Linked DNA regions of Homo sapiens: region 2 is linked to region 1. The links are contacts of gene promoters, found by promoter capture Hi-C in blood cells and fetal thymus (Javierre and others, 2016). All regions are on one chromosome and are shown on one strand. Each heading gives the region's core, a stretch centred on a gene start or on the middle of the fragment in contact. The rest is flanking DNA. Distances are from core to core; before and after follow the strand shown. Region 1 holds the start of NOB1 (NIN1 (RPN12) binding protein 1 homolog). Region 2 overlaps NFAT5 (nuclear factor of activated T cells 5).

Region 1 (2,524 bases), core at 17-2,516:
AACAGAGGAGGTAACATCATCTCCACTATCAGCCTCTAACCTCTAAAACACTTCCAACCACTGAGGGGCCTTTCCTGGGTATCACCTTGATTCCCAACAAGAGAACAACGCTGACTCCTAAGCCAAGAGACAATTCTTTAATTTTCTTTATTTCTTATTTTTTTTGAGACAGAGTCTCGCTCTGTCGCCCAGGCTGGAGTGCAGTGGTACGATCTCGGCTCACTGCAACCTCCACCTCCAGGTTCAAGCAATTCTCCTGCCTCAGCCTCCCAAGTAGCTGGGATTACAGGAGCACACCACCACGCCCAGCTAATTTTGTATTTTTAGTAGAGGCAGGGTTTCACCATGTTGGTCAGGCTGGTCTCAAACTCCTGACCTCAGGTGATGCGCCCGCCTCGGTCTCCCAGTGCTGGGATTACAGGCCGTAAGCCACCGCGCCCAGCTTAATTTTCTTTCACATTTAATACAATGCAAAGCATTCCCTTTTTAAAGCTCTGCCAGGTGCAGATCTTTGTATCCAGTCATCAGCCCAATCTACTGAAAAGAAATGGACGAGAGTAATAGCAAGAGATCCAAACTCTTATTTTAAATCCAAATAAATTTATTGCTTGTCTGCAAAGTGCTTGACACTGAGCTGACTGCCATATTCCTCAGTTCATGCTCACAGCAACCTTGGAGACAGATACAATTATTATTCCCATTTTGCGGATGAGGTAAACGAGGCCCAAATTTGAATGCTATGCCCGAGAGCATACAGCTAGTTACTGGAGGACTCCAGACCCAGGAAGCCTCTCTCCTACCACAATCTCCTAGAAAGTGCTGGCTCTAAATCTACTGCTCTGATAAGGCAGCTAGACCCCAACTCGCACCCAACTGGGTGCCATCTGCGCCCTGGACCCCAGCTTCCCGTCAACGCTAGGGCAGAGGCACTCACCCAGCCGCACGTATTCCGGTAAGGGCTCCTTGAACCGCAGCTCGTAGGGCAGGACAGCGAGCCGCCTGCGTGTGGCCTTGTCCCGAATCTCAGTGACCACCTCCCGGATGGTGTAAATGTTCTTCCCGATGTCCTGCGGACAGAACGCCCCAGCTCAGACCCACCCGCACCAAGCAACGCTCCGCGCGACTCCACGCACTCCGGGAGGGGCGGCCAGCCCAGATCTCTCTCGTCCCGGAGGGAGCTCCCCGTACCTGCAGAGCCGCATGCCGCAGGAAAGCCCCAGCATCCGCCACAACGTGCTCCACTGGAGCCATGTTGGCTGCGTGAGAGGGGAGCGCGCATGCGCACGGAGCTTGCGCCGGCTCCTATGTCCAAGTCTGGGCCTCTGGGAACCAGGAAGAGCAGCCGCGACTTAGCTGCGCCTCCTGGCGGCCGCGCCAGCACCTCCCTGCTCTACTCGCGCGCATGCGCAGCGACGCCGCCCGCATAGCCAGAGAAGTGTGGGCGGGGTCAAACCTTGGGGGACACCTGGGAAATCGGCTTCAGCATCTAGACCTTAGTGCCTTCTTCACCTTTGAAGATAAAACCTGCCAGGTGTAGTGGTGCGCGCCTAGAGTCCCAGCTATTAAGGAGGCTGAGGCGAAAGGATTGCCTGAGCCCTGGAATGTGAAACCAGCCTGGGCAACATAGAGAGACCCCCATCTCTTCAATAAATAAATAAATTTAAAACCTGTATATATTCTTATGGTTAAAAGTCAATCAATACAGATTACCTAATTTCGTTATCACAGCACCCCTATGAGATAGGTACTGTTTTTTTTTAAAGGCTTAAAATGTATTTTAATAGGTCGATGCTGCATTACTGCTCCAGTTCTCAGAAAAACTCCAAATATATCAGAGACAAATCAAATACAATACACCAATGGAAAAAAAAGGCACAGCATGACTACCTAAGATAGGCGAGTCTAAGAGCTACTGTCAGACCTTCAGTATACAGTAACCCTGTTCCCAAGATTGTACTAGGCCTATCAAGAAAAGCTGTGAACAGCAGTATCATAGACACAAAAGGGTCATTCCTGGGTGTCCTCACCCAAGAAAAAGATGGAGGCAAGTTAACACAAGATTTTTTTTTAAAGATATACTAAAATGAAAATCTCTAAGAGAAAATGTCTTCTTTAGGACATGAAGGGGTAATATATGGGATATAATAGAACCGTATGTACGTTGCCTGTGACCTTTGTGGACGTTTACCTGAATTCTCACCTGGGAGTGAATGGAGCAATGCGGCTAAGGTCATTGGGGGATGTTTGGTTTTTGTGGTGTATGTGGCAGTTTCTCTGGGACTGGGGGAGTGTAAGGATAAGAAAGCAAGTGAGGTTGGGCACGGTGGCTCACCCCTGTAATCCCAGCATTTTGGGAGGCTGAGGCAGGGGATCACGAGGTCAGGAGTTCAAGATCAGCCTGGACAAGCTTGAACCCGAGAGGCAGAGATTGCAGTGAGCCGAGATCGTGCCACTACACTCCAGCCTGGGCGACAGAGTAAGACTCCATCTCGGGGGCAGGGCAAGCAAATGAAACAAGATGGAC
Region 2 (2,524 bases), core at 7-2,506, 50 kb before region 1:
GGTAGATTGATTCATTTCATTTTAATCTCCTTGTGTAATTCAGTACCTCCATAATTGTTCTAATCTTCTTCCCACTGTTTACAAATTACCAGTTAATTAACTCGTGAAAGAAAAATTCACATATCAGAATAAAAATAAATGTATACTCACTTTATAAAAATCACCACTGCTGTCTTTCCTTAATACTAGCAGTGGAAATGTAAGTGGCTTACTCTACAAATTTTGGTGCTGGCAAATACATAGGCAAACTGTTGGGAGCTGCTCTAGTTACATTCCTCCCTTCTTATTCCCTTTTTCTCTTCCTCACTTTATTGCATAACATATTCCTGTACCCAAAGCATTCTACCACAGTTCTATTTGACTCCCACTTGTAATAACTCCTTTAAAAAATTCCATGTTTAACCATATGACCCTGCTTGCTTACTCATATTCTCCCTCCCTCTCCCCTTCCTTTCTCTCTCTTCCAGAAGTCATTTGCCTGGTTTGAAATATTTTGTAGGGATTGCTTATTATATTATTTTAGCTGATGAACCTCAGGACAACGTCTACACACACACACATACATACACGCACACAAAATCTCAGCTGTTGAAGAGTGGGCTTGGAATCAGACTTCTGTGTCCAGTAAAAAACTCCTGCACTGAAGTCATTGTGACTTGAGTAGTTACAGACTGATTCCAGTGAACTTGATCTAATTTCTTTTGATCTAATGAATGTGTCTGCTTACCTTGTTTCCTTTTAATTGATAAGCTCCAAGTAGTTGCTAATTTTTTGACAACTTTAAATGAGTTTCATTCACTTCTTTTACTTAATGTTTTAAGTATAGTACCAATAATTTCATTAACCTGTTCTCAAGTGGTTTAGCTACCATTCTGCCATTTTTAATTTTTATTTAATTTTATTTGCTTGAGCACACTGATCAACCACTGAACTGCCTTCTTCCATTGTCCTGCAATGATATAAGGGTTACATTTTTGTGTATATGGCTTTCATAGTTGGGATTTCAGAGCACTGATACCAGATATTTTCAGTTTGTTCTCTGGGGGAATTTCATTTGCATCTATGTTTTTAGCTATCTGTGATAACTTGTTAAATATTAAAAAGATATTTTGCTTCTATTGGAACATTTGTATACTCGCAACTATATTTCTGTAAACAGCTGCAGTCAAAAATAAAACACTGAAAGTTTTCATTTTGCAGTGGATAGCTGTCTTTTTTTTCCTCAAACTTTGTGAATGGAATTGTGTGCATGAACGACAGTTTTGAGCAGCATGAGTATATGGCTGAAATTATAAAATCATTAGGGAGGAGGTGTGAAATATAGACATATTTCTGAGTAGTTATTTTGTGCCTACCATTTTGCCAGGTAGAGTATAAGTGACTCAGTGTGACAGAATTTTTGTTTTACGTATAATTTAAATGTTTCATGTTTAGTAAAGCAATACATATACACGGAGGTGCTTTTGATGAAAACCAAGTCTCCCCATCCCTTAGTCCCATGCCCAGAGACAATCTCTGTTTATTCTTTTGGTGTTATTTCTACATCTCTAAATTAGCGCATATCAGAGTGTGGTACACAACTACCCGTGGTACGTGGATAAACACTATTTTTAAACTTACATGTATAAGTGTTTTGATGCGTAATAGAAAAAAATATAGGCTGGGCTCAGCGGCTCACGCCTGTAATCCCAGCACTTTGGGAGGCTGAGGCAGGCAGATCACCTGAGGTCAGGAGTTCGAGACCAGCCTGGCCAACATAGTGAAACCCCATCTCTACTAAAAATACAAAAAATAGCTGGGCATAGTGGCGGGCACCTGTAATCCCAGCTACTTGGCAGACAGAGGCAGGAGAATCGTTTGAACCCGGGAGACGGAGGTTGCAGTGAGCAGAGATCGCACCATTGCACTCCAGCCTGGGCAACGGGGCGAGACTCTGTCTAAAAAATAAAAAAATAATAATGTGTCTACCTACCAGAGTGAGGGAAAAAGTGAGTCAAATTAAAGAAAAATATTAAATCACTGGGCTCAGTGGCTCATGCCTCTGTAATCCCAGCTACTCGGGAGGCTAAGACAGGAGGATCACTTGAGGCCAGGAGTTGGAGACCAGCCTGAGCAACATAGCAAGACCCTGTCTCTATTTTTTTTTTTTTGATGTTTAAATGAAAGGAAAAAGGAAGAAAAATATTTTTTAAAAAAATGCTAATACAGATACATGGGTGTCATGAATATGGTATCTAATTGAATCGTAAAAGACATTGCTTTAGACAGCATACTTATACCTTCCTATCAAATATAGACAGTATCTGTTGATTCTGTAAAGGAGTAACAATTCTTAATACATCCAAATCTATATATATATATCTAAATGAGTTGTTAGGAGATTTTATATATATATATACATATATATAAAATTTATTATTATTTTTTAAACAATCCTTCTGTTCTAAATACAGTATGCCTTGCCAAGCATGGTGGCTCATGCCTGTAATCCCAACACTTTGGGAGGTCGAGGCAGGAGGACCAC

What was found. Contacts are between HindIII fragments. The CHiCAGO score rates a contact against its expected background, and 5 or more counts as called.
Region 2: a fragment that was not itself captured here is called in contact with the fragment with the promoter of NOB1 in region 1 in 1 of 17 cell types (naive CD4 T cells); the score reaches 5.5 in naive CD4 T cells.

What each region holds. Positions count from the first base shown.
Region 1 is chr16:69,753,660-69,756,183 of GRCh38, forward strand. NOB1 (NIN1 (RPN12) binding protein 1 homolog) reads right to left here and starts at 1,267. Exons shown (of 9, transcript NM_014062.3): 1 at 1,189-1,267; 2 at 935-1,067. The coding sequence starts at 1,251. It also overlaps the pseudogene NONOP1. RefSeq lists enhancers at 313-936, 937-1,559. The HindIII fragment of the contact is 2,537 bases long and covers 1-2,405 here.
Region 2 is chr16:69,703,463-69,705,986 of GRCh38, forward strand. It overlaps NFAT5 (nuclear factor of activated T cells 5), which reads left to right. Exons shown (of 15, transcript NM_138713.4): 15 at 1-1,192. Among named protein-coding and RNA genes, the nearest start is that of SNORD13H, 4.0 kb to the right of the region's middle. The HindIII fragment of the contact is 3,242 bases long and covers 1-2,524 here.